Regions from separate parts of the Homo sapiens genome. Here region 2 is linked to region 1. Evidence: promoter capture Hi-C in human tissues and cell types (Jung and others, 2019). All regions are on one chromosome and are shown on one strand. The core of a region is centred on a gene start or on the middle of the fragment in contact, and the rest is flanking DNA. Distances in the headings are between cores, read along the strand shown. Region 1 holds the start of MOBP (myelin associated oligodendrocyte basic protein). Region 2 has its middle 39 kb from the start of MOBP.

Region 1 (6,181 bases), core at 2,732-5,231:
AGGCAATCAAGTGTGAGGGCAGAATAAAGGAGTTTTCAGGGACGCAAACACTTAGAAAAATTCACTTAATATATACTCTTTCTAGGAAAAGTATTGTAAGGCATGCTTCAGAAAAATGAGGGAGCAAACCAAAGATGAGGATGGCATGGGATCCAGGACAAGGTGATCTCTTTCCAGCAAAGCAATGAAGGGAAGAGCCAGGGCTGCGCCGGGTCTACAGAGCAACCAGCCTGAAATCTGAATGAGATGACAGAGGATTACAGAAGACAATAGATGTGAAAGATCATTCAGTATATTGGAATGCTTAAAAATTATTAACAGATAGTTGACAGATCTGTTGGAATATTTGGAAAAAAGGATGTAGTGTAAAATTTAAAACTAAGCAGATTAAAATAAATGAATAAAATTAAAAATGGGGTGATTATTAACTCCAGGAACAAGAAATTTGTACAAAGAAAGGAAACAATTGTAGTTAATCACAAGGTTCTGAAGGAAATAATATTTACATATTTATAATAATATAAATACTAACTACATTCAGTAGGTAAGGGAAAAGGGAGAGGAAAAAGTAGAATGTAAGAAAACTATACCCTTAAGAGGAAACCAATAACCTACCATAAATAGGTATATAAATGGCTATTTGTGTGAATTATTTAGATATATGGAAATAAATAGAGAAAAGATAGCTAAGAAAAGGTTTAAAATGGTTGCCTCTGGTGGCTGGGATGTTGACTGGTGAGGCAGCATAAGGGACTATTGTTTTCCAACAGAAGCCTTTTAATATTATTATAACTTTGCACAAGTGTTATTTTGATAAATGTAGAAACCAATTGAAATAGTACTTATTGTCACTGTGGCGTATTAGTTTGTTAGGGCTGCTGAAGTAAAGTACCACCAACTGGGTGACGTACACAACAGAAATGAATTGTCTCACAGTTCTCAAAACTTGAAGTTTGAGGTCAAGGTATGGGCAGGGCTGGTTTCTTCCGAGGGCTGTGAATGAAGGATCTGTTCCAGGCCTCCTTCCTTGGCTTGTGGATGACCATCTTCTCCCTGTGGCTTCACATTGTCCTCCCTCCAAATGTGTCTTTCTGTCCAAATTTCTTCTTTGTGTAAGGACACTAGTCATGTTGCATCAGAGCCCACCCTAATGACTTCATAACTTGATCACCTCTGTGGTCTGTCTTCAAATCCTTATTTGAATCCAAATTCTTTTTTTTTTTTTTTTTTTGAGACAGAGTCTTGCTCTGTCACCCAGGCTGGAGTGCAGTGGTGCAATCTTGGCTCACTGCAACCTTTGCCTCTCAGGTTCAAGCGATTCTCGATTCTCAGCCTCCTGAGTAGCTGGGAATTAAAATCCTCTGTAATGTTAGGCACATGCCACCACACCTGGCTAATTTCTTTGTATTTTTAGTAGAGATGGGGTTTTGCCCTGTTGGCCAGGCTGGTCTCAAATTCCTGGCCAAAGTGCTGGCCTTACCGGAGTGAGCCACTGCACCCGGCCTCATTCCAAATTCTGAGATACTAAGGGTTAGGACTTCAACAAAGGAATTTGAGAGATGAGGGATGGGACACATTTTAACTCATAACATGTGGGGATTGTCAATTGTAGCCAAAGTTTCTGTGGGAAAATCCTCTGTAGTGTTAGCAAGTTTCTTAATTGTGACTGTGAGTCCTGGGAGGTCTTGCTCTGTGTGGAACACAGGCTGCCATTCAAGAAGAGTGACACTGACTCAGACGTGGCCTCCCCAGTGGTTCTGGGAGTGAGGGTGCCACCGCACTAAGGGCAAACACTAACATTTAAGTAGAAATAGAAAAAGATGGCATTACAAGCATTTTGTGGAACCTCCATACTTTGGTTGTGTAAATTGTATATCACTCTATATATGGTGGAGTAGAAGATCAAAGATGGGACTTCCCCAAAATGTGTCATTAAGAACTTTTGTTGGAAAGATTTGAGAAGCAGAGGGTCTTTTAATAAAGATAGAGCTTTATAATATATCTACTAGATCTTGTATTTTTTAAATAGCCTGAATTAGTCTCCAGTTATTTTGTGAATAGAAAACAAGTCCTTACAACTGCCACCCACCCCTGTTGGTAACCTTCTTTAGGGCCAGGGCCATAAGAGTGACATTGGTGCAGGACTCTGTGTGCCAGGCATTCTTTCCACCAGTGAACACATATTAACTGATTTAGTCCTCACTCAAATCCTTGAGGTGGGTCCTGTGATGATCCTAGTGTCAGTGCCTCCAGAGCTCAAGCTCTAAACCATCTTACCCTACTCCCCAGCCCTCAGTCACAGTCAGTACAACACAAGCAAAATACTGGCATCACAGTGGGAGTGAATCAACCAGCATACGTCTATAACTCATTACTCAGAGAATGTTTAATTAACTATAAAGTTAGTATACGAAGAGGCCAGGCACGGTGGCTCAAGCATGTAATCCCAGCACTTTGGGAAGCCAAGGCAGGCGGATCACCTGTGGTCAGGAGTTTGAGACCAGCCTGGGCAACATGGCGAAACCCTGTCTCTACTAAAAAATACAAAAATTATTCAGGCATGATGGTGGGTGCCTGTAGTCCCAGCTGCTCGGGAGGCCGAGGCAGAAGAATAGCTTGAACCCAGGAGGTGGAGGTTGCAGTGAGGTGAGAGCGCCACTGCACTCCAGCCTGGGGGACAGAACCAGATTCCGTCTCAAAACAAAAACAAAAACAAAAATGTTAGTGTACAAAGAGATTTATAGTCAATGTTTGTAGTCTCACTGGATTACCTTTTCAAGGTTCCCTGGCTGATTCTTTACTGAGACAAGAGCCTAAAGAGAAACTTGGTGGTAATGTTGACATTTATATTACACTGTCATGGAGGGGGCGCTGGGAATTCAAAAGGCAAGGCTGCTGTTGGTTGGATTGGTTTCAGAAGTAAGCTTTCATCTTTCAAATCATTAGTGGGTAGTTCTAGTTCTACATATATAAAATAAATAGCAGAAGCAGAGTTACAGGACCCATGGCATTTAACAGAGCACAGAAAGGTGTGGCCCCACATTTTAGGTTAGGAAAATTATAAGAAAATGCCGGTGTCTAAGACTGAAGCCAATAAAATGTTAATTGAATGAGATTTATCATTCGCAGAAACTGTTCAACATAAGAGATGATTTATACGTGTTTTCATAAATGTGAATGCATAGGGTAATTGTCATGGAAACTTCCAAATTCAATGTTAGTTGTAACTAGACTGGATTAGACTCTTGCTAATCAAGTGTACAAGGGCATGCTTGTGTGAATTTTAGTTTTGGGGTGTATCTATGGGTATACATGAGTGTTTTAGGGAAGGAAGTGTGATCGGTATTTAATCTACATGGAGTATAAAAACTCCTGGAATTTGTCAATGTGATTGCAGCTGTGTTCATGGCTTATGGGTATGGCTTGTGATGTGTGAGTGAGGTATGGGGTGCTGGGTGGGATGGCGCTGTGGTGGCATAGCATGTTGGTGGAAGGGTGTGTGGTTTGGTAGGGTGAGCTGGTGTGTGGTGTGGTTGGACCTGGCATGGAACTTAACTGGAGTTTATGTGGAATGAACCTTGAGGGGTGAGTTTTCACATGGGGTGTTGATTATGTGGGAGGTGGGAGGCTGGAATATGTGAATGTTGGGGGGCTGTAGAGTGAATGTGGGGTGCGTGTGTATGTGTGTGTGAGATATGGTTATAGCTTAGCTTAGCTTTTGTTTAGATTTTCTTTTGCTCTTTGTTTTTGTCTTTGGCCTTTGTTTTATCTTTGTTTCGCTCTTTGTTTAAACTTTCTTTGGCTTTTGTTTGGTCTTTCTTTAGCCTTTTGTTTAAACTTTGTGTGGCCTTTTTGTAGTCTTTGTGTAGCTTTTGTTTTTAAGTGGATCTTCGCTGAGGACTCATCAAAAACACCTTGTGTAATGAAAAACCCAGATCTATAACCTCTCCCTATATATTCTGCATGCATTGAAGTAGGCTCAAACCCTCAGGGACCTGGTATAGACGCAGAATCTGTTTCACACAACAACTGCTATTTGAAGGTAAGAGGATTCCATTGGTTTTTATTTTACTTCATTTTATACTTTCATCTTTAAATGACAAGTGTACTTTTTTGTATGGGCCATTTCATTATATCCCAGGGAAAACTTTCTGTAAGAATAGTCAAGATTGAGAGGACATACAAGGATGGAGAAAACAAGAACAGAGGACACCATGTTTATTCTGATGTGGGCAGGGGGCCTCCTGGAATGTTCCTGCTAATGTTTGGAAATCGTCTGAGCCCAGAGAGAGGCTCTGAGCCCTTACTCAGATTTCCTCAGATTCAAAGCCCCATGTTCCTGGAGCTAGATGGATGGTAGTACATGCTGCTGCTGCTGCTGCTTTTTTTTTTTTAATTTATTTCTTCTTTTATTATTTGTCATGATTTAAAAATGAGTTTTTCTTCTTATCTAGGAACAATTTTTTTCCTCATACAGTTGGATTTATGTGTGGGGGATCTTAATGGAACAACAAAGCCCAAATCTTTTCGGAATTCTGCCCCCTGTAGACCAACAACCTTAAATGGAAAGGCGCTAATGCTTTGTCTGATACAGAATATCTTAGAAACAACAGGGAGTTTTCAGTTCTATGGATGACAGAGAAAGGAAAAAATATTATGTGTCAGGGAGGCGAGTAATGAACTTGGCCTACAGTACTAGCAGGAAAACGGGGAAAGGACTTTTTAATTCTTTGTGAATAAATCAGGGAGGCAGAGAGCAGGCTGCTGCCAGGTGTGCGGATATGCTGTTTCGTATTTAGAATGACAGGAAACTTGTTGGTGAGTGAGTTTTAAAAATTGTTTCAGATTTTCAGAAAAGTTGCAAACAATACAGAAAATTTCAGGTGCAGCCAAATTACCCAGATGTTCCTGTTTTACCATATTTCCTTTATCATTCTCTTTCTCTCTCTCTGTATCCATACATATGGGTGTATATATAAAAATATGTGTGTGTATATACATATATACATATGTGTGTGTATATACATATATACATATGTGTGTGTATATATACATATATACATGTGTGTGTATATATACATATATACATGTGTGTGTATATATACATATGTGTGTGTATACATATTACATATGTGTGTATATATACATATATACATGAGTGTGTATATATACATATATACATATGTGTGTGTATATATACATATATACATATGAGTGTGTATATATACATATATACATTGTGTGTATATATACATATATACATATGTGTGTGTATATATACATATATACATATGTGTGTGTATATATACATATATACATATGTGTGTATATATATACATATATACATATGTGTGTGTATATACATATATACATATGTGTGTGTGTATATACATATATACATATGTGTGTGTATATATACATATATACATATGTGTGTGTATATACATATATACATATGTGTGTGTGTATACATATATACATGTGTGTGTGTGTATATACATATATACATGTGTGTGTATATACATATATACATATGTGTGTGTATATATACATATATGTGTGTGTATATGTATAGATATATATACATATGTGTGTATATGTATATATACACATATTTATATCTAATTAATTTTAATTAAAATTTATTTTAATTGGAATTAACTAAAATTTATTTTAATTGGAATTAATTAAAATTTATTTTAATTGGAATTAATTAAAATTTATTTTAATTGGAATTAATTAAAATTAGAAAATTACTATTGAGAAAATACTGTTTTTAAATCTAGAGATATCTAGATTTCATCAATTGTCCAAGGAGCGAATTGAGAACCATGCATGACCTTTTGTTGTCCTGTCCCCTCAGCCTCCTTTAGTCTGGAACCACACCTGAGGCAGCTTTGACCTAGACAGTTTTGGAGAGTATAAGCCAGTTATTTTGCTAAATGTCCCTCAATATGGGTTTGGTCTGCAGTTTTCTCACAATTATGCAGTTTTCAAAGGAATAGGCTTGCATTTTAGATCATACATATCCAAATTCATACTTGAATCTGAGTATACAATTTTTAAATTCAAGATCTTGTTTACCTAATAGTTACTAGGATTTTAAATGAGTACCTAAAATCTTTGTACACCAAATTGCCAAAAATTAAAAATCTAGAGCTTTTACAGATAATTTCCAAGG
Region 2 (6,264 bases), core at 2,047-4,546, 39 kb after region 1:
TTAGGTTCACAGCAAAATTAAGGGGAAGGTACAGAGATTTCCTCTATATTCTTGCCCCAATACACACATGCCTGGCCAATTTTTTATTTATTTATTTATTTATTTTACTGTTCTGAAGGTATATCAGCATGCCAACTTTTTAGACCTTTTACTATTTGGAACTGAATCTGTTTATAAGTTAGTAGTGGGTGTTAATTGTATTTGAGATTCTCATATCTACTCTGATACCCAGCACTTGTGTAGCATCTACTATGTGTAGGTATCACATGATGTTTACTGATTTAGTAGGAAGAAGAGTCAATGGGGAAGAATGTTAAAGATGCCCCTAGAAAATGTGATTTTTGGGTCACCACTAAGGCCTGGGTATGTGCCTTTTTAGTAAGCATTCACCCCGCAAAGGTACAGTTATGTAGACAGTACGCAGACTACACAATGAGCAATGCTGACCTAAACAATCCATAAATGAATAATCCAGATTATTTGTGATGTGAGGTAAAGAAATGTGGAGAGTGATAAATTTATGGTACCAAAAGTGAAAGCATTAAAAAGGCACAAGATTAGGCAAGTTTAATTTGTGAAGGAAGTAACTAGTCACTAAAACTTTAATAGCAAGTTGTATGACAGGTTACCTAGTCATTAACTGAGTCCCTCTTAAGGACCCTGAGTAGAAGGGTCCTAGGACAGGTAAGTATTGATATATGGAAGTAGTTAGAAAATGTATGAAACAGAGGAAATTAATTGTATAAAAGGCATGCCACCTATAGTGGTGGCTTTGGGTGGCTGGAGTTCAATCAGGACATGGAAAGGAGTTAGAAGACAATGAAAGCAAACTTCACCATACCCACAGATTTGTCTGGACCTAACCTGGATCAGTGTATTCACCTAAATTCAGGAGATACCCTAGTGTTGGTGTGCTTTGACTCCCTCAGTTAACTAATTTCAGTGGGTATCAGAAGGTGCCTCCACAGGCCGTTATTACCTCCTCAGCCATTGTCCCTTACCTGGGAACAGAGGATCTGAAAGTCTTCATTCGTAATGTCCCCTGACTTCACTTATGCACTGTCTTGAGTCCTATTTGAGATATTCATTTTTCCTTCTTAGATTCCCAAAGGTCTTCAGGTAATATATTGGAGCCACTTCTTCATCATATTGTCTATTCCTTTTATTGATACTGATTGACTATTTTGAATCAAAGGAGTGGGAGGCAGGTTGATGTGATGGGAAATATTTGCTCTTAAGCAGAGCTACTAACTTGCACATGAAGAAAGGGTAAAAAAGATTTTCTGAAGCCAACTTGCTTTCTGAAACAGTGCTATTTCTGAGGTATTGCTTTTAGAGGTTAAATAATTTTGGCAAAGGCCTAATTGGATTCTTAATAACTCCCTTGGATAGGTCTTCTCAAAAACCAGAGAATGATTTAATCTTAGAAACTGATTGTACGATTTCCAGCATCCTGATTAAACATGGTAGCATTCATAATATTTGATAGGAGGAAACCGTGGCATCTCCCTCTTAGTTTATTCTGTCCTCCCAGTTCTAAGATTTTAGGATTTCACAAGGTTGTCCTTGCCTTTGGGTTTAACAGGTATGTCCTGGGCCTCTTTTGGTTTCAGTGTTCTGCTTTTGGGAGCTGGGGATCTGTGGTTCTTTGAAAACCACCATGGCTGTGGGTGGTTAATTTGGAGTCAATCAGTCACATATATTGGGAAGTGCTGTGTGTGCCTTTGACTCATTTTTTTCTGCACAGCATGTTTTATATTATTAAATTGAGCCCTGCACACAAGCAGCCTGGAAGACTATGATTTTCCAGGTAACAGCAGAGCTAGAGAAAAGGCCTGAGCTCTTTGCTTTCTGTTCAGGCTCTTGTTCTGCCTGTGTCTCAGGTTGCATTATTGCTTTTATTAGTTTGGGTGACTGAACTCTTGAATTTTGCCCTATCTGTGGCATATACTCTTTCCTATCTGGGAGCAGTCCTTTATACATCCTGGTGGTCCCTATAGCACAATGCTTATGCAGAACAGATGCTTTTGCAGAGGCCTAGGTTAGCCAGAGAGGCTTCCAGTCCTGGGAGCTGTGTGTTGTTTTGGAGTGTGACAGCCTCTGCCTGGTCACAGGTCCTTACCTGGTCCAGACCACATGGTTAACTACGCCTTCTCTGATAGCCTTAACCCAATTGTCTCTCATTCTCCTTCAACACTCGTTTTATAAATCCCTGATTCTAGATCAAGCTCACAACCTGCCTGCATTGGTTTTCCAGCTGCTGAGGATGGTCATGTGTGCATAGAGCTGCTGAGTGCAGTTTGGGAAAAGCTTTATAGCCTGGTGGGTTGGTGCCACCACAAATGGATGAACCCCAGCCACTCCCCAGACTGTCCTGGCTCCACCAGCCCCCACACGTTCATCAGAATATGCATCTGTCTTTAAATCCTTCCCCTCAGCCTCAGAGGTTGAAGCATTCATTCGCTGATGAGGCCAGTCCCCCACCCCTCCCTGTGATCTTCCAACCTCTTATCTCCTTTGAGGTCTTGCTGTACAACTTAGCAACCCCCCTAACCACTTCAGCCTTTGTATCTTGTCTCTTTCTCATTAGCATTTTGACGTGTTTTGCTCTCTCATATTGACTGTTTGTTCACGTCTGGCCCTATCCTCTTTTCTCTCTACCTTAGACAAATTTTAAAAAGAATAGTGTAAACTCGTCATCTTTACTTCCTCAAATCCCATTTGCTCTTCAATTCATTGTGTTCTAATTTCTTCCCTTAGCACCCCCGCCCCTGGAATTCCTCTTGTGCAGATTCCTCCAGAAGTAACAATGCAAGGGCAAGAAGTTTATTTGGGAGGTGAAGGGGACACTGGAGGAATGTGGGAAGCAAGATAAGGAAGGGAAAGAGCCAATTAAAAAAAAGCATTATCTAACCAATTCTCACCGTGGGTTCCTGGGACTTAGTCCTGCCGAGGACCTCTGGGGAACAGTGTAGACATGTGCGTCAGTTATCTTACCAGAGGGGTGGAGGAACTGGGATATTTATACACCAGTTCTCGTCAGACATTAGTCAGCCAACGCTGCTTCAAGGATGGGGGCATTCATTCTTTGACACGTCTAGCTTGTTAAGGAGATGGCAAAGTGGACTGCAGCAGCAAGATAAAAGCCCTCAGGAAAAGAAAGGCAAGTGCTGGCACCTGGAAGTGGGGCTGAGCACAAGAGTGGTAAGGGCAAGGGGTTATGGGCAAGGCACCAGTAGTGTTTGCTCTAATGGTTACCTGTGGCCTTCATGCTGCTTTTCCTAATGAGTGCTGAACCCAATCTGTATATCAGTGGTGCTTTCTGTTGGATTTGTTGGGCTGTTCTCTCATTCAGTCTTTAAACTCTCTGTTCTCTTGGTTTCTGTGACTCTCTTCTTCCTTTTCTCTGCAGGAACTTTCCTTCTTCATCTTCTTGTGAGTGCTTCCTTTTCTGCCAATTGCTCAACCTTGAGGTCCCCTAGGGTTCCCTACTGAGCTCTCTGCTTATATGATTTTGCCTTCTCTTGTGGTTTTAATTATGACTCACGTGTGATGACTTCTAAACCTTAATTCATCATTGACATTAATATGTGAGCCTATTCACTCAGCAGATCAATTTGATGTTGGAAAACCTAATCTGTCTACACTTGATTTCTTTCCTACAAAACTTGTTCTTCTTTTTGTTTGCTATCTCAGCAAATAACACAGCTGTCCAACTAATCCCCCAAGTTGGAAACCTAAGCACATTGTAACTTCCAATTTTCCCCTGCATATAAATGCTGGCCAATTTGACTTTCTGATGGGAAGGGGTGCAGGATTGAGATCAAGCTAGAAACAAAGTAGAGGGAATGGAGGTAGTTGATAAAATAAGTCTCCTCCATAGCACATATGGAGGGATTGGCCTTTGATGGGAACAAGAAAAGCTGTTAGATTGTGCAAAGTAGAGAGAGACCCATTAATAGGCATTAAGATAGAGGTCATGCCCGAGAATGAGCGAGCTAGAAGTTTGAGAAGGTTAGGGTACACCTGGAATGTTAGAGACCAGGCTTCTAGGCAGTAGTTAGGGCTGGCTGAGCTGAGCTCAACAGAGCTGTATATAAATCATTTGTTCTTAAGGAGCTCCTTCTCCAATGAAAGGAAACAGATTGCCACCTCTGAAATTATCAGTGGAATCACACAACTCCACATCCACACTCTGCTTCTCTTCCAACTTGTTTGCCAAATGCCCTCACAGCAACTGTTCTTAAACTTTACCATGTGCCTCCAGTGTTCTGACTCCTCCATTTTTATCTCCATCTATCAGACTCCACTTTCCTCGCTTTCCAAATTAGAAATGATATCCCAACATTTTAATGTCGTTCACAAATACCCTAGAATCCCCTGCCTTCTGAATATTTGTCTTACACCCCTGGGAAAACCCCAGCCTTTGATGAACCCAGCTAACTGGCTTCACCATGTTTGTTTTTGGGCAGCTAAGCATCACTGGAGAACAGCACACAGCAGGACGATAGTAGCTGGGTATAAGCAGAATTGTGTTTATCCTATCACTAAGCAGTTTCCTTTGGGCAGTTATAGTTCAATTGCATGCATTCAGACAAAAAAGGAAGCATGTACCTCAAAAGTGTCATGTATGCATGTGTAGTTTATATGCTCACACACATACTTCATATGTATCAGGCTTACTGAAGTATAATTTACATGTGGTAAAATTAAACTCTTTTGGCATACATTTCTACGCACATAGTCCTGTGACTACTGCCACAAGTAAGATATAGAATATTTTCATTACCCTTCAAAATTTCCTTATATTTCACCTATGCAGTCAACTCCCCAGCCCATAGTAACCACTGACCTATCTTCTGTCCCTAACTTTTGCCTTTTCTAAGATTCCATATAAGTGGAATTATGTAATATTATAGCCTTTTGAGCCTGGCTTCTTTTACTTAACATAGTGCTTTTGAACCATATTGTTGCATTTTTTTTTTTTTTTTGAGACGGAGTCTCACTCTGTTGCCCAGGCTGGAGTGCAATGGCATGATCTCGGCTCACTGCAACCTCTGCCTTCTGGGTTCAAGTGATTCTCCTGCCTCAGCCTCCTGAGTAGCTGGGATTACAGGCATGCGCCACCATGCCTGGCTAATTTTTGTATTTTTAGTAGAGAGGGCTTTCACTATGTTGGTCAGGCTGGTCTTGAACTCCTGACCTCATGATCTGCCCACCTCGGACTTTCAAAGTGCTGGGATTACAGGCATAAGCCACCGCGCCTGGCCCCAACATTTTAATCTCTTTCACAAATACCCTAGAATCCCTTGCCTTCTGAATATCTGTCTTATACCCCTGGGAAAACCCCAGCCTTGGATGAACACAACTATATATACAGGCATCCCTATACAGTATATATGTATATAGTATATATACATATGCATCCATATAGTCTCTCTCTATATATGTGTATGTTTATATGTATGTGCATATATGTATATACATACGTGCACATATGTGTGTGAGAGTGTTTGTGTGTGTGTGTGTATATATATATATATATGGATTCACATGCCACAGTTTGCTACTCACCGGTTGAAAGATGTTTGTTTCCAGTTTTGGTGATTATGAATAAAGCTGTGAACATTATGTGAACATAAGTTTTCCTTTCTATTGGGTAAATAATTGGGACTGGTAATGCTGGGTAATATGGTAGTTATTTGTTTAAACTTCTAAGAAACAGCTAAATTATTTTCCAAAGAAGTTGTAACATTTTTCATTCCTACCAGTAACCTGGGCTTATTGTTAACACTTGGTACTATCAGCTTTAAAAATTTTATTCATTCTGATAGGTATGTAATGGTATTCATTGTAGTTTTAATTTTGCATTTTCCTAATGACTAGTGAAGTTGAGCATCTTTTAATGAGTATAAAGATAATCCACTAAAGACACTTATTTGGTGAAATCTCTGCTTAAATCTTCTACATATAAAAATCGGATTGTTTTATTATTGTATTTTGAGGGGTCTAAAAATATTCTAGATACAAGACATTTATAAACAATATGTTTTGCAAGCATTTTCTCCAGGTCTGTGACTTGCCTTTTTATTTTATTCACAGTGTTTTGTGAAGAGCCAAAGTTTTGACAAAGTCAAATTTATCAAATTTTACTATCACACTGGTCTTTAAAAATAAAAAATTATTATTTTTTATTTTTGATACCCCAGTTTCTTCACCTCTCTGATGAGATACAGATGAGATACTGATGTACAGGTCTACACT

Evidence for each region. The method cuts DNA at HindIII sites, captures the fragments that hold promoters and counts their contacts. A contact is called where the count stands out against the background at its distance.
Region 2: a contact is called between a fragment that was not itself captured here and the fragment with the promoter of MOBP in region 1, in 5 of the 25 tissues and cell types used here (hippocampus, mesendoderm cells, neural progenitor cells and 2 more).

What each region holds. Positions count from the first base shown.
Region 1 is chr3:39,463,699-39,469,879 of GRCh38, forward strand. MOBP (myelin associated oligodendrocyte basic protein) reads left to right here and starts at 3,982. Exons shown (of 4, transcript NM_001393704.1): 1 at 3,982-4,042. RefSeq lists an enhancer at 3,600-4,282. The HindIII fragment of the contact is 13,076 bases long and covers 351-6,181 here.
Region 2 is chr3:39,503,577-39,509,840 of GRCh38, forward strand. It overlaps a transcript of MOBP not described here. Among named protein-coding and RNA genes, the nearest start is that of MOBP, 39 kb to the left of the region's middle. RefSeq lists an enhancer at 2,316-2,815. The HindIII fragment of the contact is 4,996 bases long and covers 799-5,794 here.